Linked DNA regions of Homo sapiens: regions 2 and 3 are each linked to region 1. The links are contacts of gene promoters, found by promoter capture Hi-C in human tissues and cell types (Jung and others, 2019). All regions are on one chromosome and are shown on one strand. Each heading gives the region's core, a stretch centred on a gene start or on the middle of the fragment in contact. The rest is flanking DNA. Distances are from core to core; before and after follow the strand shown. Region 1 overlaps RPRD2 (regulation of nuclear pre-mRNA domain containing 2). Region 2 holds the start of MLLT11 (MLLT11 transcription factor 7 cofactor). Region 3 holds the start of SEMA6C (semaphorin 6C).

Region 1 (4,522 bases), core at 820-3,319:
GGTCACGCTGGTCTCGAACTCCTGACCTCAAGTGATCCGCCCGCCTCAGCCTCCCAAAGTGCTGGGATTACAGGCGTGAGCCACCACGCCTGGCACTCGTTTGTTTTTAAAAGGTTATTCTTGTTTCTGCTGGAACAGGGATACCAATTAGATGGCTATTGTAATCCAGTGTAAAATATTGATGGCTTGGACCAGGTTATGGCCAGCGGAAGTGATAAGTAATTTAATTCTAGATCTATTTTGAAAGTAGGTCCAGCCAGATTTCTAGGTGGATTAAATGTGGGGTGAGAGAGGAGGAGAATAATCAAGAATGACTTTTTTTTTTTTTTTTTTTTTAGCTTGAGCAACTAGAAAGATAAGAGTTGACATTTATTGATATGGGGAAGGCTGTGAGTGGAGCAGATTTTGGGAAGAAGATGAGAAATTTAGTTTTGGATGTGTTAGGTTTGGGATGTCTATTTTAAGAAATCTTTTTTAAAGATATAATTCACAAAAAATATACTCATTTAAAGTGTACAATTCAATTGTTTTAGTATATTCATAGAGTTGTTCAGCAATCACCATAGCGTGTCTAGTATATGGATTGTTTTTAGAGCCAGGAAGCTGGAAGAGATCAACTAGAGAGAGAGTGTAGATAGGGAAGTAAGTCTAGTAAGATAGAGCAGCAAGTACAGATATAGAAGAGGTCCAGAGAGAAGGCTATGGTATTATGAAATCTCTATTTGGTCTCTGTCCCATTTCCTGGCATACTACTTCAAAAATCCTTGGGTCTTCAAGGTGATAAGTGTCATTTTGTATGCTAATGAGTTGACTGATGGTTGGCATCCCCTGGGTAGCCTAAGGATGGGGGCTGGTCACTGGAAAGAATAAGGCAGGACTAGAGGTTGTGACTTTCCGCCCTACCATCTAACCTCTGGGGAAGGGAGAAGAGCTGAAGGGGTAAACTGAACACCAGTGGCCAGTGGTTTAATTAATTATGCCTTCATAACGAAACTTCCATAAAAATCCAAAAGGACTGGTTTTGGGAAGCTTCTAGACAGCAAAACATATGGAGGTTCCTGGAGGTTGGCATGCCCAGAAAGAACCTAGAAGCTCTGCACTCTTAGCCCTACCTTGCCCCCTCCATCTCTTCATCTGGTGTTCATTGGTGTCCTTTGTTATGTCCTTTATAATTAACCAGTAAACGTGTTTCCCTGAGTTCTGTGAGCTGCTCAAGCAAATTAATGGAACCCAAGAAGGGGGTTGTGTGAGCCCCGATTTATGGTGGTTGGGTCAGAGCAAATGTTAACCTGAGATTTGTGATTGGCATGGGAAGTGGGGGGCAGTCTTGTGAGACTGAGCACTCAGTCTGTGGGATCTGATGCTCTCTTCCAGTGTCAGAATTGAATTGGAGGGCACCTAGCTGGTGTTCATTGCAGAATTGCTTGCTTGGTGTGTGTGGGGAGAACTCTCATACATTTGGTCAAAGAAGTCTTTGTTGATTGTTGAATGAGAATGTAGGAAAAGCACTTTTAAGTTTGTTTATTCTCTATTCTCAGAAGGCTGTTGGGGCATTCTAGTATTTTAGATGACTCTTTCTACTTAGTCTAGTGTGTTATTGGCTTAGGTTCTTTTTGAGGTTCAAGGTAAACTTTGTCTCAGCCCCCCAAAGAAGTAATAAATCTATTTTGGTCTCTTGCGTATTTTTACTCTTGGTTTACGCTTAATGGCATTTCTGTATTCATTGAGCAGGAGCTCTGTTATAATTGGTTATTATCCACCCTCTCCCTCCCCTTTAGATGCCTAAGTCACCTTTTTTTTTTTTCATTCCATTGCTCTAGGTTCATAGAGTTATAGGTGGTATTTTTCCAGGTTTCTGGCAATGTTTCGAAACATGGAACTGTCTTAATTATAAACTATAATTATTGTAATGGTATATATTAAGCCTTTTTGTCTGTATTGTGAGACTTTCCAAGCAGTTGTTATCTTCTTCCTTTTAGCTGCTTAGTCTCTTACAGCAGAAGGGTGATTTCATCCATGGCCTTAGGTGGGTTTGAAGCAATATGTAAAACATAATTTTACTATACCAAATTCCATAGTAAGCTAAAGAGTAAATTTTGTAGCAAATAAACATTCCCATAACTAAAAGTGTGAAACACTACTGACAAACTTCACATGGTTCTGTGACATGGAGGTATCTTGAAAGGAAAATTACAATAGCAGTGGAAAAACACTAATATTAAAATTTGCTCACAGAGGCCACCCAGAATTACTTTAATGTTAGTTTTGTCTGTAGAGGAGGGACGAGTGTATGTATGTGCGTAATTTTTTAGGGAGTAGAAGCTTACTGATTTTATTCTTTTTTGTTGTTATCAGCTTCCTTGGGTTGAATGATTTTACTCTTAATGATTTGGCTTCCTGCCTTTCTTAAACTAATAAATAATAGTTGCATCAAAATTCTTTCTTCCTCCTAGGCTTTTGTCAGTTATGTTCTCTTTTTTCCTCCCACTTTTTCCAGGTGTTTATTGTTTTACAGCAGTACTTTTAAAAGTCAAAAGGGGAGATTTTGGTCAGTTGTTTTAAAATTTCAATTGAGAATTAAGGATACATGAGGTTTAATTTGTTGAAGGAACTCAGAGACCCTAATAAAAATTACCCAAGAACAGAACAATTTACAAACCAGCTTGACTGACTTTCTCATCTATTTGTCAAGGAAACAAAAAGTAGTTGTGTTTCGTAGTGATTTCAAATTCCACTGCCCCCACAGATATTAATTATAGAACACTGGAGGAATGTACATCTTAGGGAGAAAGTAGTAGAACCTAGTTATTCCTTTTGAGAAAAGGCAACAATTCCATCTGTGCTTTGAAATATTAAAGCTTTTCTGGCTAAGATAAAGATAGTTTTTAAAAATGCTTCATTCTTATTCTCTTGTTTTTAGAGAAATATTGAAATAGAGGCTCTTTGATGAAGGAAATGAAAATGTTTGGTTTGCTGGGTTTAAATTTTACTAGTGTTTGATTGAGGCCTTGATCTCTCCCTCATCTCTCTTTCTTCACTTCTTTCTCTTATAATTAATTTCACTTACTTGCACTTTCTAGTTCTCTGGAATCCATTAGCAGAGAGAGAGAGTGATTCTTTATTACCCTTTAGTAAAAGTTGCACTGTGAAAGGAAAAAAGGATCTTTTAATGTTTGGGATTATAACTTAACATTTTTTGTTTTAAAAAACCTAGAATGGATCCTGAGCTGTTTTTGTGTTCCTTTACTGTCATCATAGTTTTAGAGTGTAGCATGATACAGTCTTTTTTTTTTTTTGAGACGGAATCTTGCTCTGTTTGTTGCCCAGGCTGGAGTGCAGTGGCGCCATCTCGGCTCACTGCAAGCTCCGCCTCCCGGGTTCACGCCATTCTCTCGCCTCAGCCTCCTGAGTAGCTGGGACTACAGGCGCCCGCCACCACGCCCGGCTGATTTTTTGTATTTTTAGTAGAGAAGGGGTTTCACCGTGTTAGCCAGGATGGTCTCGATCTCCTGACCTCGTGATCCGCCCGCCTTGGCCTCCCAAAGTGCTGGGATTACAGGCGTGAGCCACCGCGCCCGGCCGATACAGTCTTTTAAAATGATGATCTTTGTGTCTAGGAGGCAGTATTACTTGAAAGATTAAAATTCTCTTATAATATGTTATGCCTAAAGATACAGAATGAGAAAATGAACTTAGAAATACTGAGTGCTGGCCGGGCGCTGTGGCTCACGCCTGTAATCCCAGCACTTTGGGAGGCCAAGGTGGGGAGATCACCTGAGGTCAGGAGTTTGAGACCAGCCTGGCCAACATGGTGAAACCTTGTCTCTACTAAAAATACAAAAATTAGCTGAGCGTGGTGGCATGTGCCTGTAGTCTCAGCTACTCGGGAGGCTGAGGCAGGAGAATTGCTTGAACCCAGGAGGCAGCAGTTGCAGTGAGCTGAGATTACGCCACTACACTCCAGCCTGGTGACAGAGCGAGACTATCTCCAGAAAAAAAAAGAAAAAAAGAAAGGAAATATTGAGTACTTCCTCTATGTAAACCCCTGTATTGGGTGCTGAAAGAGATGGAATTATAAGGAACTTAACATTTAGTAAATGGGCCGGGCGCGGTGGCTCACGCCTGTAATCCCAGTACTTTGGGAGGCCGAGGCGGGCGGATCACGAGGTCAGGAGATTGAGACCATCCTGGCTGACGGTGAAACCCCGTCTCTACTAAAAATACAAAAAATTAGCCAGGCGTGGTGGCGGGCGCCTGTAGTCCCAGCTACTCGGGAGGCTGAGGCAGGAGGATGGTGTGAACCTGGGAGACAGAGCTGGCAGTGAGCCGAGATCGTACCACTGCACTCTAGCCTGGGCGACAGAGCAAGACTGCGTCTCAAAAAAAAAAAAAAAACATTTAGTAAGTAAGATAGGAATTGAACACATATAACTGGTTCTGGGAAGTATAATAATATGAGTTTTATATGCTCTAACAGTTTAGAATAGGTATCACTTTGGTTGGATTGCTGGATCCTTATTGT
Region 2 (4,475 bases), core at 333-2,832, 690 kb after region 1:
CCACCGCCTCTGGCCCTAAGGCCTCCAACCCGCGGCCTGACAAGCCCTCACATGAAGCAGCTGGAGAGAAAGAAAGAATCGAGAGAATGGCATGGGCAATTCTGGCTAGAAGCCCGGGGCAGCAGCTGGTCCCTGTGTGGAGACCCCGAGACATGGAGGGCTGCTGAGGGACTCTGGAGAAGCGGTGTGGACTCCATATTTCAGCCAAGTGACAGGCCCAACACCAACCTTCCCTTCCCCAGGAAAGGTCTTCTGGGGGCTTAAGAGGAAAGAGGGCTAGGCCCTAAGCCTCCCCTCCCCAAATATATTCAATCACACAGATTCCGTATCTGTCTCCCCCCACTACACAACTCTACCTAGAAGTTCTCTGCTGTTCTCAACCCTTAACCGGACTGGGACCTCTCTGGGAATCTTTCGGACCCTCTCCCTCCCACCTCCCCCAACATTCCAGTTCCTTCTTTTCCTTCTACTCTTCAGCGGCCTCAGCCTGCGCACCCCAGGAGCGTGGATGACTACGGCCACCCCGGGCGCGCACCCCTTTCCCACCACCCCAGCATCTCTGCAGCCCAGGACACCCGCCTCCCCCACACCCCGCATCCGGTGTGTCTCCGCCTGGCCCGGCCGGCGCGGCAGGCGGGCCAGGGGACCAACTGCACGGCCTCACCTGCTCTTCTCCACCATCCAGACGTTCAGCTACAGCTGGTGGGGGTGAGGGACTCTGCTCCGTGGCCGCCAGTGTGGGCTTCCCGGGCTAGCTCTGCGGCGAGGTGGGGGAGCCGAGTACGAGCCGGCAGAGGTGGGGCCGGCTGAGGGCGGAAGCGGCGGCGACGCGATTACGAAACCCGTCCGGCTCGGAGCCCGGCGCACTGCTCCCCTCTGGACTGCGGAGGCACTGCACTGCGCGGGACGTGGGAGGGTGCCTCTGCAGCCCCTCAAGGCCGCCGCCCCTGCGGGGAGAACTGGAGAATGCGGACACCTAGATGAGGCCCTGGCACCCAAGCTGGGGCCCCCGGAATCTCACGTTCCCTTTACTCGCCAGGCATTTCGGGGCAAAACGAAGCGGAGCCCCCCAAACCCCCAGACCTAACCAAGTTCAGAGATTCGCAGAAGCACGCCCCCCACCCCAAATTTATTGTGCTCTACCCAAAATGGAATAGGACTAGGTTTATTTACCCATTGTGAGGGTAGAGAGGCGAGTCTGGAGGAGCAGGGATTGGGAGAAGGGGTGGAAAAATACTCTGATTCTTAAAAATACTTTGTAACCTAAAGTCCTTAAATTGTGGAAGAAAGGAATACTCCTCCTTTCCATTGTAGTCTAGAGTTAAGATTTCAAATCCATAAATTAGAGGACCTAAAATTAGAGGGCAATTAACTGCTCATTCATTGGGCCCCCAGTCAGCACGGGGGTGCTGGAAGAGATCGGGAATAATAGCGCAGACCAATGAGCCTAGGGAGATGCTTTCATCGTCTCTCCTTCCCTCAAGTGTTCTGGAACCTATCATTTGAATTAGCCGAGTCAGGCAGGAGGGGGCGGGGAATCCTTCCGCCCTTCTTAGGAGGGGCTGCATTGCAGGGGGAGAGTGAACTGACAGACTCAGTCACTGAAGAGGGAAAAGGAGTGAGAAGACAAAGCCGTCAAAGCCCCAACAGCTTTGTATTTCTCCAGCCCGGCGCAGACCCCGGAGCTCCCGAGGCACTCCCTCCATCTTTGGAACACGCCAGTAATTGATTGATAACAGGTAAACCAAACTGAGGGAGGGGGCAGGGGGCTGCAAAGATAGAAGAGCGGCTGCTTATGGTTAGATTGAAAGACCCCACATGAGGTGGGGGACAGCTGAAGAGGAGAGAAGGGGGCGCTATGAACAATGGGTAGTTATTTCTTCACAGCATCCATGCCTTGTTACCTTATACAGACCATTAATCTCTAACAATTTACTTGTAGTTATTTCTCAGCACCTACCTCATTTCAAGTATCCTTTTCTGTAATTTATTGTCCTGTGTATTTAATATCTTCAGTCTACTTATCTTCCTTTTCAAACCATAATTTGTTTTACCAGCTGTTTAATTTTTAGTCCTACTGTATCTCTCTGTCCTCTACTTCCCTATACTTGCAATTTTTTTCTGTAGTGTTCTATGTTTCTCTGTAGGAGGGAGTTTGGGAGGGGGTTATATGGGATAATGTTGGGTGTAATCCTGACCTTTCTTTGGATAATCTCTTTCATTCCACCTCGAATCTTTGCTCCAAAGAAAGAGGCAGCCTAGGGTAGGAAAGGTGGGGGCCTCTGTGTTGGAGAACTGCCTGATTCCATAGTGAAATCAGTATAGCCCACAGGAGCTAGGTATGGGGACAGATTCTGGAAAAGAATGATTTGCAGCTCAGTGGAATTGGTGGAGGAATGCTAGTAGGAAAATCCAAGCTCTGACTGAGGCACACATTATGAGATGTCAGAGAGGTTCTGCTCCCCTCTACCACCACCACCACCTTGTCCTTCCCCCTTCCCCATGGTGGCAGCATGACACAGCAAGGCCCTGTTGAGTAGGCCTTGGATGCCCACAAAGGGTCTGGACAAAGGATATTTGGGCGTGTCTGTGTGGCTCCGAGAGTGTATCTTTCTAATCTATACATTTGCTAATCATGTATCTCTAAGAACAGAGTGATAATTAGATATTGCCTTTGCCTAAAATACCCGGATAATTTAAAGTGAAGGATAGTGGGAAGCATTTATTGAACATATATTGTGGTACAAGGCACTGTCAAAACCCTTTAAGTAAATGATACCATTTAAGATAATGAAAGATGTAAAGATAGATGAAGTAGGGCTGGAGAGCATTTGTGGAGGGGAAGGGGAAGCTAGCCAAAAAAGGATCTTTTGCGAAATTTGGAGTATTTGATAATTAAATCCATACTATATTAAATCAAAAATGTCATTACTACTTACATTAGTGAATAGCATTTTAACTTCAATTTTCTGTGTAGTATTACTTTATGTTCTTGACTTGATTTTAATGCCACGTATGTTTGCATGCATGTCTTTCTTGAATGTATTTGGTACCCTGTGTACATGTCTCTGGGTCAATGACATAGAGATTTTAGGCCTTTTGAGTTAATATTTCATAAAATTTGCTTTAGCTTTTTAAATTGCAAGATAGCTCTACCAAACACTCAGGGACTGTTTGAGCAGTTTTTTATACATACTCTGGTTGTAAGAAAAGGAGTCAGTTTGTCGAAGAGCTTTTTTTTTTTTCTCAGATTCTAGCTTGCTCTACTGCCCTTTGCTTTTCCCCATTCAGATCACAATTACAGGAACAATCACCTAAACCACGGAAAATCTATTCTTCAGCAACTAAAAATTCTTTTAAGTTTTGGGAATACTGGTATAGGGTTATATAAAGCTGTTGGCAACTATCCATGTACAACACAAAAAGGGATCAGATTGGGAATTATGAGATCTGGATTCTATACAAACTGGCTGGAAGTCTTCCCAAGTCATTAATTTCTAAGATGTCTTCTAGTTTTAAAATTCTATGATTTTTTCCCCCCATGATTCTATTTTTTTTTTTTTTTTAAGATGGAGTCTCGCTCTGTTGCCCAGGCTGGAGTGCAGTGGTGCAATCTTGGCTCACTGCAACCTCCACCTCCCCAGTTCAAGCGATTCTCCTGCCTCAGCCTCCCGAGTAGCTGGGATTATAGGCGCCTGCCACCACACCTGGCTAATTTTTGTATTTTTAGTAAAGACGGGGTTTCACTATCTTGGCCAGGCTGGTCTCGAATTCCTGACCTTGTGATCCACCTGCCTCGGCCTCCCAAAGTGCTGAGATTACAGGCGTGTGCCACCGCGCCTGGCCCCATGATTCTATTTTTTAAAGAGCCTATAATGTGGCCTGCATTATACTAAGCTCATTCTGGAGAAGACTTGTCAGGTAGGATAGAGAAAAGAACCCAGCTAGCTGTGAAAATAACTGGTAACAGTAAGAATCCCTGTAGCCACAAGTCCATAACAGTATTGACTCCTAGGTATGCTTCTTAGAATCTCTATAGTCCCAGATTTAAGCAGTGGGTGGTTGGTTAATGGATACAACCATTTTTTGTAGCTCTCTTTCTGCACACGTCTCTGCAAAGTACTATGGAGATTATCAGAGTTGAGTATCATAGGATGATGACCTCACCTTTCCAACATGCTCCCCGACCCTGCTGCAATCCCGGCATCACCCTCCTTCTAAGCAGCTTCTCTGCTGAGTAATGCTCAGTTCCCAGGGTTTATTTTGGAACTTAAACTAAGAAAAAGAACAACTCAGAATTCACTTTCAACATTAAAAACATCCTAGCCTACCCACTCACCATTCCTGAAGCCCCCACACTCTCACACATCACTGTGTTCTAGATTAACACTTTCTTTTTCTGCCTTAGTACAGTCATTTCACATTATACTGGAGCATTTTGGAACCTATTTAAGGCCATTATTTAGGAGTCTCTG
Region 3 (4,390 bases), core at 245-2,744, 770 kb after region 1:
ACCCCATCTGAAGCACATGGGAGAGACCTGGCCGACTCTCCCCTTTCCAGATCCTCCCGTTGCTGGGAAGAGGAAACAGCCCTTCTCTCTCCTGGCCCCGAAGCCACCTCTGGGGAATGGCTGGGGTCACAGCCAGAGTCTAGGAGAGCTGTGGAAGGGATGGAGAAGGGGAGACTGGGCTGGGGACAATAGCAGGAAGCCTTTGGGCTGGTCGCCCGCCCCAGTCCACCTTCCTCAGAGGGAGCAGGGTCGCGCCAAGGAGCCTGTGGAACCGGAGCTTTCCTTTCTCCAAGCCATTTCCCCCACTCTTAGCTCTTAGCCCCACACTCAGCACCTACCCTCCTTCCCACCCAACCCCCAACCAGGACAATCCAGGTGTCTAAAGCCTCGAAAAGAGGTGGGCCTAGGGCCAGGGGCTCGACCTGTCTCCCCCTCACCGGATCCGGGGCTCCGAGGAGGGGCCGGTAGCAGAGTCTGGGCCGGGACCGGGTCCCAGAGCCACGTTAGCGAGAGGAGGGGCTGGAGGGGCCTGCAGGCGCAGACGAAGAGGGGATAGGAGCGGGGGTTGGGGAGCGGAGGCGGGTCTCCCAGGCCAGGGAAACAGGGCCAGAGGCTGAGAACCGACGAGGGCGGGCCTGAGGCCGGCGCTCAGTGGGGACCGTGGGCTCAGGAGGCAGTTGCCAGCTCGGATGTCCTCCTTGGGAGACCTCAGTCTAACAAAGCCCCGGGCCGAGCGGGCTGAAGGAAGGAGATAGGCGCTGGGACCGATGTTGCTCGAGGGCCCCATTCGCCGCCTCTTTGCACGAGCCAACCCTTCAGAGGGTGCTCAGATTCCGGCTTGCACAAGGACAGAGGAGCACCCGTGACACAAAGTCCGGAACGATGCGTCCCTCTTCCCATCCCTTCAGGGGCGTCAGGAGGGTCTAGTTCTCCGTGGGTCTCGGAGCCCTAGTTTCCTTGCTGGGAAAGCAAGGGGCCAGGTTTTCCACGCTCTCTACGGAGCGCGCCTCAAATAATCCCTTTTCGCGCTTCCCAGTCCAGCGGGATGCGACTCGACGAAAGCCCAATTGAACGAGGTGCCCAGACTCTGCTCTCACCAGTACAGTTACGGGGCTCGGCCACTGTCCCTCCTTCCTCCCTGCACCCCAATTTCGTTGACCCTCTCCGTCAGCCAGGCACACCGGGCGCCGACACCTCCCTGGTCCCCTAGCGCTTCAGAAGCTTGCCCCCCGCCGGCCGCGCCCTCCTGCTCCCTCCCCGCCTCCCCGCAGCCCCTTCCCTGCCCGGGGTACTTGCTCCAGGATTCGGGTCAGCGGGATCGAGATCGCCGCGGGCGGCCAGCGGCCACGCGCTGCGCTGAGTTCGCAATCCGTGGTTGTGCTCAGGCGAGATGCGATGAGCGTCCGAATTGGATGGTGCTTGAATTTGGGTTCCAGGGCGCTGTCGGGAGAGCCCTGGGTCCAAGTCCAGCCGCGGATCCGCGGAGGAAAACAATGCGACCGCCCGGGGCTCTGGGCTCGGCCCCAGTGGCCCCGCCCGCCTCCCAGCCGGGCCCACCTCCTGCCCGCCTTTGGGTCGCCGCGACTAATCCCGCCCTCGGAGGGCGGCTAGACACCGCCTTCTCGTCACCTCTCCGCCAATAGTGCTGCCCGGGGAGGGGCGCCAGGAGCACCGTCCACCCAGAGGGCCAGGCCGGGAGGCTGAACTGGAGACCAGAGACAGACGCGAGATGGAGAGACCCACGGACAGTCGCCGACACCGGGCAGAGGAAGAAATACATACAGAAGCAGAGACAGGCTGGCACAGGAGAGGCTCTGGGGAGAAATTTCCCAAGAGAGGAAGAGGAGCTGGGAGGAGAAACAGACAGGAAACCTGGGAGCCTCGCGGGGCTGGGCTGGGCTGTCAGAGCCTGCGCGATCCGTCCTCCCTTCCCCTCCTATACGGCTTGGGCGACCTTGCTCCCGAGGGCGCATCCCGCATCTCCCTGACTCTGCCCCCAACTCTCTGTTGCTCCTCTCTATGCGTTGTCCCTCTGTCTCCTTATTTCTCCCCGTAGGCCTCCTCTGGTTCGTCCTGACCCGGATAAGGAGGCCTAGCATGCGCGTGGGGGCTGGAGGCCTGGGAAAGGAAAGGAAGGTGTCAGCAGGAGGTTTCCCTTGTTTCCATGATCTCCTCCCCTCCCACCTCTACAAAGCAGCATGAGTTTGGGCCACTATGGCAAGAACTAGCTAGCAGTCAGGCTGTTGGGTAATGGAAGAGGGCAGGTGAGAGAGGCTGAAGCCAAAACAGATGTGGAAATCAAGACTAACTGACTCAGAGAAAGGCACAAAGAGTAGCAACGCTAAGACTTGATAAAGTAACCCACACAGCCTTCCTGCCCCACAGACATACGTCCCACCTTTCCTCAGAGGACCGTGACATCCCTCCAAACAGCAAAACTGCCCCTTCTCCCTCCCCACCCTTCATAAAGCCCCTGGGAATGTCAGTGAGGAGGAAGAATAAACTACTACAGACAGGATTGCTTGGTACCTTGGTATTGCCTGGTAGGATTCTTCTCTATGTGGGGCTGGGACAAAAGACATTCTCAAAATTCTCCAGGAAAGTGGGTGGCCTGGGAGACACTGGCATTCTCAGATAGTTTTATCTGACTGAACACTTCTACCCACATCTTGGACTCTGGACTAGAGGAAAGGAGGGGGAAGGGGTTTGCCACTTTAGGCCAGCCTTAACTGGACTGTGATCAGGGAGGGGAGTATCAACAACTAGGCTAAGCCCCACAGCGAGTACACAAGAGACCTAAACATACACACACATGTGCACACGCACATACAGAGAAAGAGAGAGACAGAGAGACAGATTTAAGGCCAGGTGAACCAGTAAGATGAACAGTAACTCAGTAAAGTCAGATCTAAAAAAAATAGAAGAAGATAAACAGGGACAATATCTACACAGAATTAACGGCCGAGGGATCTTGGGTCCAAGGCAATTCAACAAACTGTCAGACAGTTGGGGTTGTTTTAAAGGCTGGAAAGAAATTTTCAGAGAAAGACACCTCAAAATACAGAGGCACTGAGAGGTTAAAAGAAATCTCCTCAGCTCCTAGCACAGGGTTTAGGTACTCAGATACATGCTTATGGAATAGATTAGTGAGTGGGGATTAAGGTGTAATTCATTTAAAGTTTTAGGACCCAGCTCAAATCTCAGTTCAATCCAGTAAGTATTAAACACTTACTTGAGACACAATCTACTACACAATCCACTGTGGGTTGTGGTTCCAGACTTTAAGAAAATGATAATATATTTGAATTAAAATAAGATTTGCACATACTAAACTATTAAAAAGTCTAAACTATTAAAAAGACAGTACTAAATATTAAATATTTAATAGTACTAAACTATTAAAAAGACAACACCAAGTCTCAAAAGAAAAGCTACATTGAACATAAATTTCCAAATGTGCAAAGAAGACAATAAATATTCTCCGAAGACTGCACAGAAAGATGCTGGATACATTTTATCATGAAGGACAGGAAAACTTTGGTGGGAGTTGGCTTGGTGCAAAAGAAGAAAATGTTCCCGAGGGACACAGCTTCAGCAAAAGCTTTTACTTGGTTAGCAAGGAGCCTGCAGCATGGATAAAAAAAAGGTCCTGTGAGGCTGGTGTGTGGGAAAGGCACTAGTTAGGAGCAAGGGGAGGGAAAAGGGGAAGACAAATTACAGAAGGCCTGGAATGACTAGGTGAGCTGGTTAAAATCATCTGACAGGAGTAGGACGTCATTTTAAATTCTTGAAAAAGGGTGCAACTTGTATTTTTTTATTTTTTTAAGCAAGAAGACAGAGACCTACTAGCAAGTAAACAAGGTTTAAAGGTGAGGGGAGAGGGACAATCAGACAAGGGTGATGGGAACAGATTTAGAAAGAAATACATGAATCTGAGAGCTATTTTGAAGGACAAATCAAAATGACTCTCTTGGCTGGGCGAGGTGGCTCACCCCTGTAATCCCAGCACTTTGGGAGGCCGAAGTGGGCAGATCACCTGAGGTCAGGAGTTCTGAGACCAGCCTGGCCAACATGGAGAAACTCCAGCTCTGCTAAAAATACAAAAAAAAATTAGCCGGGTGTGGTGATGGGCACCTGCAATCCCAGCTACTCAGGAGGCTGAGGCAGGGGAATTGCTTGAACTCAGGTGACAGGAGATTGCAGTGAGCCAAGATCGTGCCACTGCACTCCAGCCTGGGTGACACAGAGGGAGACTCTTAAAAAAATAAAAATAAAAATAAAAAACCTCTCTTCCTACTCCCTTAGTGTTTTGAAGAAAATCACACAGTCCTGGCCGGGCGCAGTGACTCAGGCCTGTAATCCTAGCACTTTGGGAGGCTGAGGCGGGTGG

The links. The method cuts DNA at HindIII sites, captures the fragments that hold promoters and counts their contacts. A contact is called where the count stands out against the background at its distance.
Region 2: a contact is called between the fragment with the promoter of MLLT11 here and a fragment that was not itself captured in region 1, in 1 of the 25 tissues and cell types used here (dorsolateral prefrontal cortex).
Region 3: the fragment with the promoter of SEMA6C here is called in contact with a fragment that was not itself captured in region 1 in 1 of the 25 tissues and cell types used here (dorsolateral prefrontal cortex).

Annotation. Positions count from the first base shown.
Region 1 is chr1:150,373,219-150,377,740 of GRCh38, forward strand. All of the region lies in intron 1 of RPRD2 (regulation of nuclear pre-mRNA domain containing 2), which reads left to right. Among named protein-coding and RNA genes, the nearest start is that of RPRD2, 11 kb to the left of the region's middle. The HindIII fragment of the contact is 3,498 bases long and covers 321-3,818 here.
Region 2 is chr1:151,058,815-151,063,289 of GRCh38, forward strand. It overlaps MLLT11 (MLLT11 transcription factor 7 cofactor), which reads left to right and starts at 1,583. Exons shown (of 2, transcript NM_006818.4): 1 at 1,583-1,739. It overlaps CDC42SE1 (CDC42 small effector 1), which reads right to left and starts at 808. Exons shown (of 5, transcript NM_020239.4): 1 at 665-808. RefSeq lists an enhancer at 1,129-1,720. The HindIII fragment of the contact is 8,370 bases long and covers 1-3,155 here.
Region 3 is chr1:151,145,137-151,149,526 of GRCh38, forward strand. It overlaps SEMA6C (semaphorin 6C), which reads right to left and starts at 1,495. Exons shown (of 19, transcript NM_030913.6): 1 at 1,297-1,495. It also overlaps a transcript of LYSMD1 not described here. RefSeq lists silencers at 1,243-1,702, 1,913-1,972. The HindIII fragment of the contact is 4,441 bases long and covers 1-4,390 here.